Regions from separate parts of the Homo sapiens genome. Here region 1 is linked to region 2. Evidence: promoter capture Hi-C in 16 types of primary human blood cells and fetal thymus (Javierre and others, 2016). All regions are on one chromosome and are shown on one strand. Each heading gives the region's core, a stretch centred on a gene start or on the middle of the fragment in contact. The rest is flanking DNA. Distances are from core to core; before and after follow the strand shown.

The links. The method cuts DNA at HindIII sites, captures the fragments that hold promoters and counts their contacts. A CHiCAGO score of 5 or more calls a contact.
Region 1: a contact is called between a fragment that was not itself captured here and the fragment with the promoter of BCAS1 in region 2, in 1 of 17 cell types (neutrophils). The highest score is 5.3, in neutrophils.

What each region holds. Positions count from the first base shown.
Region 1 is chr20:53,504,093-53,511,512 of GRCh38, reverse strand. TSHZ2-AS1 (TSHZ2 antisense RNA 1) reads left to right here and starts at 7,195. Exons shown (of 6, transcript NR_187667.1): 1 at 7,195-7,404. RefSeq lists enhancers at 118-617, 618-1,119, 6,793-7,420. The HindIII fragment of the contact is 4,853 bases long and covers 1,048-5,900 here.
Region 2 is chr20:54,065,957-54,073,127 of GRCh38, reverse strand. It overlaps BCAS1 (brain enriched myelin associated protein 1), which reads left to right and starts at 2,534. Exons shown (of 13, transcript NM_001366298.2): 1 at 2,534-2,695. MIR4756 (microRNA 4756) reads left to right here and starts at 4,643; the gene lies at 4,643-4,720. RefSeq lists an enhancer at 2,941-3,815. The HindIII fragment of the contact is 13,812 bases long and covers 1-7,171 here.

The sequences.
Region 1 (7,420 bases), core at 2,225-4,724, 560 kb after region 2:
AGTAGTGGCTCAGTCCAAGCCCCAAAACCTCAAAAGTAGGGAAGCCGACAGTGCAGCCTTCAGTCTGTGGCCGAAGGCCTGAGATTCCCTGGCAAACCACTGGTGTAAGTCCAAGAGTCCAAAGGCTGAAGAACCTGGAGTCTGGTGTTTAAGGGCAGGAAGAATCCAGCACAGGAGAAGGATGAAGGCTGGAAGACTCAGCCAGCCAGCTTATCCCACCTTCTTCTGCCTGCTTTTTCTAGCTGCACTGGCAGCTGATTGGATGGTGCCCACCTACACTGTAGGTGCATCTTCCTGGGGGTGGGTCTTCCTCTCCCAGTCCACTGACTCAAATGATAATGTCTTCTGGCAACACCCAGACACACCAAGGTACACTCAGAAACAATACTTTGCATCCTTCAGTCCAATCAAGCTGACACTTAACCATCACAGGAGCATACCTGAGGCTGCTTGGAGCGAGACTATCACCCGGCCTTTGTCATGTGCACCACGCCAACGTGACTTCTTTGCGCTCCCACTGTGTCTTAGCCACAGGGTGTGGTGCTGGGGACGCAGGCTGGGGCATGAGGGGGAAGGCTGCTGGAGCCCTGCCCCTAGTGCATGTGGGAGACAAGCAGACAGCTCACATGACCGCAACTGCCAGGACCTTTGCAACAGCTCATGTGACTGCAACTGCCAGGATCTTTGCAACAGCTCATGTGACTGCAACTGCCAGGACCTTTGCAAGAGGGAGGTCCAGGGTGGGACTGGAGGGCAGGGGACTTTTTCTAAGCCGAGAGTCAGAGGCAGTCCTTAGGGGAAGCTGAAGGGTGAGGGACAGTGGGAAGACCAGGGTCCCAGCACATGCAAAGGTACGGTGGCAGGTGCTGGGATCCAGAGGACTCCAGTTTGGCTGGAGTGTAGAATGTGCTGGAATGGCAGGAGCCAGACCAGACAGAGTCTCAGGCCTGCTGAGTCCTTTGGAGCATATCTGGGGCCACAGGGGGACGATAAAAGTAATCAATCCAGGATGAGCGCAGGCAGGACAGGCTGGGGGCGCAGGAAGCTTGCCCTTACTTCTGAGAACATCGTGTGTTTTCCCAAAGCCGTTCGGTTTCCCTCGAGACAGGAGGAGCTTAGTTCTGGAGCCTGGGAAGCAGACCAAGGAGGGGCTGGAAGACCTAGAGGGGGAAGTGAGACACCAGCTCATATTTCAAAGGTCTTTGCTTGTCATGTTCACTTTCTCCGGGAAGTGCCTGTCCTCCATTATTCATCCTGCAGCCTCCAGGCCTCACCGGGTCTTCTTAGAAGTCCTGCAACACCTCTTGGTAATAGCATGGGCCTTAGGTCCCTAAAGTTTGCACATAGTGAAGAAACTATCATTTTTAAAGGGCCCACCATTTCCCAAGACTCATGCTAGGGGCTCACAAGAGTGTGGACTTTCCCACACCACAAACGTTAAGTCTGAATTTCAGGTCTACATGTCAAGTGGTGTGTGATACTGAGCAATGCGAATCTTCTCATCTGTGAAATGGGGGGTGACTAGTACCCTGCGGGCTGCTGTGAGAATCAGTCCATTTCTCAGCATGATGTCTTACTAGGCAAGCGTCACTACACAGCACATATGAAGGTATTAGCTAAGACTCATTTATGTATCTGTTTTTTTTTTTATTATACTTTAAGTTTTAGGGTACATGTGCACGTCGTGCAGGTTAGTTACATATGTATACATGTGCCATGCTGGTGCGCTGCACCCACTAACTCGTCATCTAGCATTAGGTATATCTCCCAATGCTATCCCTCCCCGCTCCCCCCACCCCACCACAGTCCCCAGAGTGTGATATTCCCCTTCCTGTGTCCATGTGATCTCATTGTTCAATTCCCACCTATGAGTGAGAATATGCGGTGTTTGGTTTTTTGTTCTTGTGATAGTTTACTGAGAATGATGATTTCCAATTTCATCCATGTCCCTACAAAGGACATGAACTCATCATTTTTTATGGCTGCATAGTATTCTATGGTGTATATGTGCCACATTTTCTTAATCCAGTCTATCATTGTTGGACATTTGGGTTGGTTCCAAGTCTTTGCTATTGTGAATAATGCCGTAATCAACATACGTGTGCATGTGTCTTTATAGCAGCATGATTTATAGTCCTTTGGGTATATACCCAGTAATGGGATGGCTGGGTCAAATGGTATTTCTAGTTCTAGATCCCTGAGGAATCGCCACACTGACTTCCACAATGGTTGAACTAGTTTACAGTCCCACCAACAGTGTAAAAGTGTTCCTATTTCTCCACATCCTCTCCAGCACCTGTTGTTTCCTGACTTTTTAATGATTGCCATTCTAACTGGTGTGAGATGGTATCTCATTGTGGTTTTGATTTGCATTTCTCTGATGGCCAGTGATGATGAGCATTTTTTCATGTGTTTTTTGGCTGCATAAATGTCTTCTTTTGAGAAGTGTCTGTTCATGTCCTTCACCCACTTTTTGATGGGGTTGTTTGTTTTTTTCTTGTAAATTTGAGTTCATTGTAGATTCTGGATATGAGCCCTTTGTCAGATGAGTAGGTTGCGAAAATTTTCTCCCATTTTGTAGGTTGCCTGTTCACTCTGATGGTAGTTTCTTTTGCTGTGCAGAAGCTCTTTAGTTTGATTAGATCCCATTTGTCAATTTTGTCTTTTGTTGCCATTGCTTTTGGTGTTTTGGACATGAAGTCCTTGCTCATGCCTATGTCCTGAATGGTAATGCCTAGGTTTTCTTCTAGGGTTTTTATGGTTTTAGGTCTAACGTTTAAGTCTTTAATCCATCTTGAATTGATTTTTGTATAAGGTGTAAGGAAGGGATCCAGTTTCAGCTTTCTACATATGGCTAGCCAGTTTTCCCAGCACCATTTATTAAACAGGGAATCCTTTCCCCATTGCTTGTTTTTCTCAGGTTTGTCAAAGATCAGATAGTTGTAGATATGCGGCATTATTTCTGAGGGCTCTGTTCTGTTCCATTGATCTATATCTCTGTTTTGGTACCAGTACCATGCTGTTTTGGTTACTGTAGCCTTGTAGTATAGTTTGAAGTCAGGTAGTGTGATGCCTCCAGCTTTGTTCTTTTGGCTTAGGATTGCCTTGGCGATGCGGGCTCTTTTTTGGTTCCATATGAACTTTAAAGTAGTTTTTTCCAATTCTGTGAAGAAAGGCATTGGTAGCTTGATGGGGATGACATTGAATCTGTAAATTACCTTGGGCAGTATGGCCATTTTCACGATATTGATTCCTCCTACCCATGAGCATGGAATGTTCTTCCATTTGTTTGTATCCTCTTTTATTTCCTTGAGCAGCGGTTTGTAGTTCTCCTTGAAGAGGTCTTTAACATCCCTTGTAAGTTGGATTCCTAGGTATTTTATTCTCTTTGAAGCAATTGTGAATGGGAGTTCACTCATGATTTGGCTCTCTGTTTGTCTGTTGTTGGTGTATAAGAACGCTTGTGATTTTTGAACATTGATTTTGTATCCTGAGACTTTGCTGAAGTTGCTTATCAGCTTAAGGAGATTTTGGGCTGAGACAGTGGGGTTTTCCAGATATACAATCATGTCATCTGCAAACAGGGACAGTTTGACTTCCTCTTTTCCTAATTGAATACCCTTTATTTCCTTCTCCTGCCTAATTGCCCTGGCCAGAACTTCCAACACTATGTTGAATAGGAGTGGTGAGAGAGGGCATCCCTGTCTTGTGCCAGTTTTCAAAGGGAATGCTTCCAGTTTTTGCCCATTCAGTATGATATTGGCTGTGGGTTTGTCATAGATAGCTCTTATTATTTTGAAATACGTCCCATCAATACCTAATTTATTGAGAGTTTTTAGCATGAAGGGTTGTTGAATTTTGTCAAAGGCTTTTTCTGCATCTATTGAGATAATCATGTGGTTTTTGTCTTTGGCTCTGTTTATATGCTGGATTACATTTATTGATTTGCATATATTGAACCAGACTTGCATCCCAGGGATGAAGCCCACTTGATCATGGTGGATAAACTTTTTGATGTGCTGCTGGATTTGTTTTGCCAGAATTTTATTGAGGATTTTTGCATCAATGTTCATCAAGGATATTGGTCTAAAATTCTCTTTTTTGGTTGTGTCTCTGCCTGTCTTTGGTATCAGAATGATTCTGGCCTCATAAAATGAGTTAGGGAGGATTCCCTCTTTTTCTATTGATTGGAATAGTTTCAGAAGGAATGGTACCAGTTCCTCCTTGTACCTCTGGTAGAATTTGGCTGTGAATCCATCTGGTCCTGGACTCTTTTTGGTTGGTAAACTATTGATTATTGCCACAATTTCAGCTCCTGTTATTGGTCTATTCAGAAATTCAACTTCTTCCTGGTTTAGTCTTGGGAGAGTGTATGTGTCGAGGAATTTATCCAGTTCTTCTAGATTTTCTAGTTTATTTGCATAGAGGTGTTTGTAGTATTCTCTGATGGTAGTTTGTATTTCTGTGGGATCGGTGGTGATATCCCCTTTATCATTTTTTATTGCGTCTATTTGATTCTTCTCTCTTTTTTTCTTTATTAGTCTTGTTAGCGGTCTATCAATTTTGTTGATCCTTTCAAAAAACCAGCTCCTGGATTCATTAATTTTTTGAAGGGTTTTTTGTGTCTCTATTTCCTTCAGTTCTGCTCTGATTTTAGTTATTTCTTGCCTTCTGCTAGCTTTTGAATGTGTTTGCTCTTGCTTTTCTAGTTCTTTTAATTGTGATGTTAGGGTGTCAATTTTGGATCTTTCCTGCTTTCTCTTGTGGGCATTTAGTGCTATAAATTTCCCTCTACACACTGCTTTGAATGAGTCCCAGAGATTCTGGTATGTTGTGTCTTTGTTCTCATTGGTTTCAAAGAACATCTTTATTTCTGCCTTCATTTCGTTATGTATCCAGTAGTCATTCAGGAGCAGGTTGTTCAGTTTCCATGTAGTTGAGCGGTTTTGAGAGAGATTCTTAATCCTGAGTTCTAGTTTGATTGCACTGTGGTCTGAGAGATAGTTTGTTATAATCTCTGTTCTTTTACATTTGCTGAGGAGAGCTTTACTTCCAAGTATGTGGTCAATTTTGGAATAGGTGTGGTGTGGTGCTGAAAAAAATGTATATTCTGTTGATTTGGGGTGGAGGGTTCTGTAGATGTCTATTAGGTCCGCTTGGTGCAGAGCTGAGTTCAATTCCTGGGTATCCTTGTTGACTTTCTGTCTCGTTGATCTGTCTAATGTTGACAGTGGGGTGTTAAAGTCTCCCATTATTAATGTGTGGGAGTCTAAGTCTCTTTGTAGGTCACTCAGGACTTGCTTTATGAATCTGGGTGCTCCTGTATTGGGTGCATATATATTTAGGATAGTTAGCTCTTCTTGTTGAATTGATCCCTTTACCATTATGTAATGGCCTTCTTTGTCTCTTTTGATCTTTGTTGGTTTAAAGTCTGTTTTATCTGAGACTAGGATTGCAACCCCTGCCTTTTTTTGTTTTCCATTTGCTTGGTAGATCTTCCTCCATCCCTTTATTTTGAGCCTATGTGTGTCTCTGCACGTGAGATGGGTTTCCTGAATACAGCACACTGATGGGTCTTGACTCTTTATCCAATTTGCCAGTCTGTGTCTTTTAATTGGAGCATTTAGTCCATTTACATTTAAGGTTAATATTGTTGTGTGTGAATTTGATCCTGTAATTATGATGTTAGCTGGTGATTTTGCTCGTTAGTTGATGCAGTTTCTTCCTAGTCTCGATGGTCTGTATATTTTGGCATGATTTTGCAGCGGCTGGTACCGGTTGTTCCTTTCCATGTTTAGCGCTTCCTTCAGGAGCTCTTTTAGGGCAGGCCTGGTGGTGACAAAATCTCTCAGCATTTGCTTGTCTGTAAAGTATTTTATTTCTCCTTCACTTATGAAGCTTAGTTTGGCTGGATATGAAATTCTGGGTTGAAAATTCTTTTCTTTAAGAATGTTGAATATTGGCCCCCACTCTCTTCTGGCTTGTAGGGTTTCTGCTGAGAGATCCGCTGTTAGTCTGATGGGTTTCCCTTTGAGGGTAACCCAACCTTTCTCTCTGGCTGCCCTTAACATTTTTTCCTTCATTTCAACTCTGGTGAATCTGACAATTATGTGTCTTGGAGTTGCTCTTCTCGAGGAGTATCTTTGTGGCATTCTCTGTATTTCCTGAATCTGAACGTTGGCCTGCCTTGCTAGATTGGGGAAGTTCTCCTGGATAATATCCTGCAGAGTGTTTTCCAACTTGGTTCCATTCTCCCCATCACTTTCAGGTATACCAATCAGACGTAGATTTGGTCTTTTCACATAGTCCCATATTTCTTGGAGGCTTTGCTCATTTCTTTTTATTCTTTTTTCTCTAAACTTCCCTTCTCGCTTCATTTCATTTATTTCATCTTCCATCGCTGATACCCTTTCTTCCAGTTGATTGCATCGGCTCCTGAGGCTTCTGCATTCTTCATGTAGTTCTCGAGCCTTGGTTTTCAGCTCCATCAGCTCCTTTAAGCACTTCTCTGTATTGGTTATTCTAGTTATACATTCTTCTAAATTTTTTTCAAAGTTTTCAACTTCTTTGCCTTTGGTTTGAATGTCCTCCCGTAGCTCAGAGTAATTTGATCGTCTGAAGCCTTCTTCTCTCAGCTGATCAAAGTCATTCTCCATCCAGCTTTGTTCCGTTGCTGGTGAGGAACTGCGTTCCTTTGGAGGAGGAGAGGCGCTCTGCGTTTTAGAGTTTCCAGTTTTTCTGTTCTGTTTTTTCCCCATCTTTGTGGTTTTATCTACTTTTGGTCTTTGATGATGGTGATGTACAGATGGGTTTTTGGTGTGGATGTCCATTCTGTTTGTTAGTTTTCCTTCTAACAGACAGGACCCTCAGCTGCAGGTCTGTTGGAATACCCTGCCGTGTGAGGTGTCAGTGTGCCCCTGCTGGGGGGTGCCTCCCAGTTAGGCTGCTCGGGGGTCAGGGGTCAGGGACCCACTTGAGGAGGCAGTCTGCCCGTTCTCAGATCTCCAGCTGCGTGCTGGGAGAACCACTGCTCTCTTCAAAGCTGTCAGACAGGGACATTTAAGTCTGCAGAGGTTACTGCTGTCTTTTTGTTTGTCTGTGCCCTGCCCCCAGAGGTGGAGCCTACAGAGGCAGGCAGGACTCCTTGAGCTGTGGTGGGCTGGGCCCAGTTGGAGCTTCCCGGCTGCTTTGTTTACCTAAGCAAGCCTGGGCAATGGCGGGCGCCCCTCCGCCAGCCTCACTGCCGCCTTGCAGTTTGATCTCAGACTGCTGTGCTAGCAATCAGCGAGACTCCGTGGGCGTAGGACCCTCCGAGCCAGGTGCCGGATATAATCTCGTGGTGCGCCGTTTTTTAAGCCCGTCCGAAAAGCGCAATATTCGGGTGGGAGTGACCCGATTTTCCAGGTGAGTCCGTCACCCC
Region 2 (7,171 bases), core at 1,285-3,784:
TGGTCTACAGTTTGCCAGACCCTTCATCACCACTCCTGACTACACCAGCTGATCCTTGGTAATGATCTACAGTTTGCCAGATCCTTCATCACCACTCCTGACTACACCAGCTGATGCTTGGTGATGGTCTACAGTTTGCCAGACCCTTCATCACCACTCCTGACTACACCAGCTGATCCTTGGTGATGATCTACAGTTTGCCAGATCCTTCATCACCACTCCTGACTACACCAGCTGATGCTTGATGATGGTCTACAGTTTGCCAGACCCTTCATCACCACTCCTGACTACACCAGCTGATCCTTGGTGATGATCTACAGTTTGCCAGATCCTTCATCACCACTCCTGACTACACCAGCTGATCTTTGGTGATGGTCTACAGTTTGCCAGACCCTTCATCACCACTCCTGACTACACCAGCTGATCCTTGGTGATGGTCTACAGTTTGCCAGATCCTTCATCAACACCCTTGACTACACCAGCTGATGCTTGGTGATGGTCTACGTTTTGCCAGACACACTGCTGAGTGCCCCCACCTGAATGATTTTTCTTAATCTCCTAAATCACTCATATCCCTAAACCTTATGTTTTTCTTCTGTAAAATGGGAGCAAAAGATCTTAATTTCACTGTGGACATAAATGAAATGGACGGATAAACACAAAAGGCTTTGCAAAGACTAATGCCATCCAAATGGCAGTTACTGCCATGTATAATTTAAAAGAGAGCAAGACAATGGGGAGTGTTAGCTCACGCCTATAATCCCAGCACTTTGGGAGACTGAGGCGGGTGGATCACTTGAGGTCAGGAGTTCCAGACCAGCCTGGCCAACATGGAGAAACCCCACCTCTACTAAAAATACAAAAATTAGCCAGGCATGGTGGTGCACACCTGTAGTCCCAGCTACTTAGGAGGCTGAGGCAACAGAATTGCTTGAACCTGGGAGGCAGAGGTTGCAGTGAGCCGAGATAACACCACTGCACTCCAGTCTGGATGACAAAGCAAGACTCCGTCTTAAAAAAAAAAAAAAAAAGAATGAACAAGTCCAATCAGCCAGGAGTTGCAGAGTACCTACTCTATCATAGAGGGATCCCCATCCTCGTTTTGCAGGGTGCCAGGAGTTGGGGATACAAGAATAGATGCAAAATAAACACAAAGGAGCACACAGCTGAGGGGGCTGACAGAGACTTAGGGAAGTACAGTAGCTTGCTCATAATTCCACAGCCGATCAGTAAGAATCAAGATCCGAGCCCTTGTCTGTCTCAACCCAGGGCCAGAGCTCAAGCTCCTGAGCCTCCAGGCTTGGGTCAGCACAGAGCGTGTGCATGGCAGCTGCTTAATAATTGGGTTTACTACATTCCAGATTGACATGTACAGTGCTGAGCTGGAATCGACTTTACAACCCTAATTACGGTGTGCCTGGTTGTGTATTCAGCATTTATTTAAATAGTATTTTTTTTCTTAAATGTTGATTTCTGAAAGAGGCCTTCCCCAGCTCTCTCTATTTCTCTCCCTTAGCTGCCTTGGCTTTTCTTTTATAATGAGAATCACACCCTGTAATTCTATGTTTATATTTACAGGATTCTATGTCCAATGACACTGAGTGCAAGAAGGGTAGAGACCCAGCATCTTTTACTCACCTCTTTAAACTCTGGCTTATATATATAGCCTGGTGCTTGACAAGTATTCATGATAGGGGTTAAGCTGAGTATACTGTTGAATAAAACCACAATAATTATTGGTCGCAATTCTCTTGAATGTCTTCTCCAGAGCACTAAGTAGTGTAACTTATCAAGTTTCCTTTCTTGCATTGGCTGTTAGGAAGCTCAAAGCCATATCTGCAAACCCTTCATAGCAAGTCTGTAAATCAACAAGAGCATTTATTTTTGATCCTGTTCTCATTTGATGTTCCAAATTTTGTTCTTCAATCTTCTTTTGTTACATGTTATTTCATGCTCTCATAATCTATTGTATATGTCCTTGTAAGACACTTTAAACAACATCCTTGCTTGAATTAAATAAATTGCATAGCCTGTCGAATTTCTGGCCTGCAAAGAAAAAGAATGCCCTTTCCAACATCATGGTATGTCTCCAGAGCAATAAACCACCCTCAGGTTACCTGATTTCTGGTGTCCAAACCCCTTTGGGAATAAGGTTTACATGACTAGGGGTAGTTGAGTGGATGAGAAGCTATTTCCTTCCAATTAGGTGGTTAGGTGGTGGTGGAGGTGGTGTTCTGAAGTCAGCAGACAGAACTACAAAATCTCACAGAACGTGTTTTCCCTGCTCTGACCATGACCTACGGTTACTGGGGAAGGAAACTGCTTCCCCAGGTCAACCCGGCAGCCTCAGTAGGTGAGGGGCACTGGGTAGAATACTTGGGGTGCCAGGGAGGCATTAATGCGAGAGGAGTCAGGTGCTCAGTTTTTATTGGAGTTGGGAGGGCAGCCCCACATCAGGAAGAGAACCTGTTTCTGCAGGATGGTCCGGGGAGAAGGGAGGACTCCACCCAGGCTTGTGTTTGCCCTGCTCTGTGTATTCAGCCAGCAGGCTCTGCACAAGGAAGCAAAGTGCAGGGAGCCAGGCTCCACCGACAGCCAGGCACTGGGCAGCACGCACTGGAGACCCAGGACCCTGTGCAGGAGCAGCTCCGGGTGACACGAGGGGACTGAAGATACTCCCACAGGGGCTCAGCAGGTAACTGCTTTCAGATCCTTTAGGCATGGCTGGAGGGTTTGCTGTTTGTGGTAGACGGTGTCATATAGAGGCCAGGGGTCAGACAGGGTCAAGTTTGATCCCAGCTCTGCCTTCTGTTCACTGTGTGGCCTTGGATATGTGTAAGCCTCAGTTCCACTATCTGTGAAATGGACCCAAAGATAGCACTCATCTCAAAGTTTTTAGTTTTACAAGGAGCAAATGACAATGTGGTCAGTGTTAGGCGCATAGCCACATAAATAACTCCTATTTGGTGGAACTATTGAGGGTCATTTCAAGCACAGGACATGGGGAGAAGTCACTGGATGGAGGGATAGGCTGTGTGATTTGGGGATCCGTCAGGGCAAGAATGCCCCATAGCCGAGTGGAATCTGAGCCTTCACCTCAGGCATTGCCTAAAGAAGTGGGAGGACAAGAAAAAGGACTTGTGGAGTGCCTTTTGTGAATCTTATTTAACGCTCAAGACCACCCTATGAGGCAGCTGCTGATTCAAATCCTGGCTTCAGGACCCCTGCTGTTTACATCTCCCTCTGAACCAGTTTCCTGCCTGGAAGAGTCATTGCGATTAGAATGCGGGTGCGCTGCAGCCACACCGCCAGATGCCAGCCCCAGCTCCACCCTGGGCTGGCTGGGTGCCCTGGAGCAGGTTCCCTCAGCCCTCTGGGCCTCAGTTTCCTCATCTGTAAAGTGAACCTAATAACAGTACTGAGATCAAAGGGCTGAGAGGACTCTACTGCCCGTAAATACCTGTGCACTTAGTAACTCTTAGCTGTGGTTCTTGTTTTCGCTGTTACCATCGTCTCCATTTTACAACTAGGAACATGAAGCTGGGTGAAGAGGGAGCTGCATCTGGTTCCAGGTCTCATGGAAAGGATGCTGTGGAACTGGAGTCCAGTCGGGCCTGGGATGAGGGTGCAGCCAGTGAGACTCTCACCTTGGGCACGAAATGTAAGGGATGCCAAAAAACTCAGTCATGGAGATAAACGGTATGTTAACACAACATTTTTAAAAGTCAGAATTAATGGCAAGACACCCGTGATGAACAAACTATGAACATGTTACAGAAAGATAAGATCAGGAACAGCGGTAATTTTGATTTTCACAAATTTCATGTTAAAATACTATTCATCTCCATGGCTGAGCTTTTTGGTGTCCCTTACATTGTTCCCCCGGAGTCCAGGGCCTGATCCGCCTCAGCCTCCTGGGGATCCTGAGCTGATCACAGCAGCTTCAGGCCCTGGGTGTATATACTCAGGGTATGTAGAGGGTGCTTCCTCCTAAATAAAGACAACAGACGGGGCGGGGCATGCTAAAGTAGTTTCTCATTTAAGTGAGGGTGGGGGAACAAACCAATGTCCCAAATCACAGAAGATTCTTTTTTTCCAAAGAGTTCTGGAACCCAGAAGGGTTTTGTTTTTAGGAAAAAGGCATGAGCTTTGGGAAAAGCAATGGGCCCGTTAAAGCCCATGGATTCTGCCTGCTTTACCATGACAAGAGATGTGGAGGGAGAGGAATTGAAAAAGGCTTTGGGTTGGGGGCGGGGGTACCTTTGCACCTTGCAGGCTCATCTGTCCTGCTGGAGTATTAGATGTGACTTGATTGTCTCTGTGTCTGCAGCTTCTCTTCAAGCCAAGTGCCCTGCCCTGAAGCAGTTCAGGATTTGAGTGCCTGAGTCACGTGGACCCAGGTTCAAACCCCAGGTGTGCCTCCCCGTAGCTTTCTGACTGCTACTCTTGGGCAAGTAGGACTAGTAAGGTGCCTACCCTCATGGAGGTGACGTTCGTGAGATGAGGGGATGGCATTGCTCAGCCTTGGTTTCTTTATCTGTGCAATCAGGGAATAATGGGACTCTGCAAGGGAAAAGGAGACAATGTGTGTGAAGTGCCTGGCACCAGGGTCAGGGCAAGGGTGAAGCCAGTGAGCACCTGGGGGATAAAATGCAGGGAGGCGCTCACTCTCTGCTGCCGATTCTGCACCAGAGATGGTTGCCTTCCTATATTTTGTGTCCTGCTATGCTCACCCTGGTGCTGCCTGGCACATAGTAAGCCTCCAATTAAAATTACCTGCGATTATCATGCACTTAACAATGTTTGGTGCAATAATAAGACTATGAGAGCGAGCTCTAAGATTTTTAGGATTACCATCCGTTTGTGCAAACATAATTAAGTACTCCGAAAGCAAAACATCAATCACCAAGCAGCCCTAAAACATCCAAGGTGATTTTGATCAAGGCACCCCTGCCCCTGGACCCACAAAGTCCCATACCAGGAATCAGGGCTTGGGCAGTTCAGTGAGGACTGGATTTCAGTTCCCTGTGTCCCCTTGTACAGGAGGCAACCTGTAGCACTGTACCTGGCACTCCTGATAATAGCTGCCGTGTTCCTAGCACTGTGCGGGCACACACATGGAGCTGCAGGACTGTGGGGCAGGCAAAGCGGGGTTGTTCTTTCCTCCTGCAAGGTCTTTACTGATGTTGGGGGCAGAGGGCTGGTTCTGCTGGGTGTGCCAGCCTGGCCATGTTGGCGTCACCCTCAGCTGAGCAGTGAGGAGGGCCCCTGGGTTACCTACATTCCATTGCATTGATCGAAGGTGTTGCTTGTTTACTTGGTGACTAATTCTGTCACCATTCCACCCTTCAAAACCACCCCCCCTCCCATTCAACAGTCGTCTAGCTGCCTGCTGGTGATGAAGTTTCAGAAGTGCTTTCTCCAGGCCAGCTTGCATGGGGTTTGGCGTTTGGCCTGTTTCCAGGAGGAGGGCCTATTATTAATCTGTAACTACAAGGAGGCGACATGGACCATCAATCACTGTGTAAAAGAGGAGGGATTTGAGGGCAGCTTCCAGGAGGCCAATTCACTCATGGATCAGAACACAGAACTAACTCAATTATAACAATAATAAGATAAATGAATAATATTAGCAATAACTAACGTTTACTCACCTGAGTACTGCCAAGCCCTGGCGCTAAATCCTTACAGTGATTATCAGTGACCCTTCAATTGTTCAATCCTCACTTTATTTGATTTATTTATTTACTTATTGAGAGAGTTTCATTCTGTCGCTCAGGCTGGAGTGCAGCGGTGTGATCTCGGCTCACTGCAACCTCCGCTTCCTGGGTTCAAGCGATTCTCCTGCCTCAGCCTCCCAAGTAGCTGGGATTACAGGCATTGTGCCTCCACATCTGGCTAATTTTTGTATTTTTAGTAGAGACAGGGTTGCGCCATGTTGGCCAGGATGGTCTCAAACACCTGACCTCAAGTGATCCACCCACCTCAGCCTCCCAAACTGCTGGGATTACAGGCATGAGCCACAGCGCCCGGCCTAATCCTCACTTTAGATTGTACCATATATATTCCTTGCCTAGTTATAATTTTCTCATTGCAAGAATGAATATGCAGGAAATATTTTCTATTCCATGTTCTATTATATTACATATAAATATTTCATAAAACTATAACATCACTTATACAGCAGAAGAGACAGTAGAAAGTATGAAAATAGAAAAGTTAAAAGTCTAAACTCTGGACTTGAGTTTGCGAGGGTTAAGTCCTCATTCTCCCACTTACTAGAAGATGATCTGTATTAGTCAGCTTGGGCTGTGGTAACCAAAACACCACAGACTAGGTGGCTTAAACAACAGTCATTTTTGTTTTCTCATAGTTCTGGAGGCTGGAAGTCCAAGATCAAGGTTCTGGCCGATGCATTTCTGGTGAGACCACTCTTTCTGGCTAGCCAACAGCTGCCTTCTTGCTGTGTCCTCACACGGTTGAGAGAGAGACAGAGAGAGCTCTTTGGTGTCTCTTTTTATAATGACACTAATTCTATCAGATCAAGGTCCACCCTTCTGATTTCATTTAGCCTTGATTCCTTAGAGGCCACATTTCCAAATGCAGTCATATTGCACGTTAGGGCTTCAACACGAATCCAACACGAATTTTGGAAGGACACATTTCAATCCATAGCATGATCTTAAGTGAGGAGTTTAAGTTCCCTGGGCTCAGGTTCTGCATCTGTAAAATGGGGACAATAAAAATACCTGCCTCGGCCGGGCCCGGTGGCTCACGCCTGTAATCCCAGCACTTTGGGAGGCCAAGGCGGGCGGATCACGAGGTCAGGAGATCGAGACCATCCTGGCTAACACGGGGAAACCCCGTCTCTACCAAAAATACAAAAAATTAGCCGGGCGTGGTGGCAGGCGCCTGTAGTCCCAGCTACTCGGGAGACTGAGGCAGGAGAATGGTGTGAACCCGGGAGACGGAGCTTGCAGTGAGCCGAAATGGCGCCACTGCACTCCAGCCTGGGCGACAGAGCCAGACTTCGCCTCAAAAAAAAAAAAAGAAAAAAAATACCTGCCTCATCGGGTTCTGATAAGGAAGCTGTGAGTTAACACAGAGAAGCATTCAGAGCAATGGCTGGCATAAGGTAGGCGCTACAAAAATATTAGGTATTACTACTGCT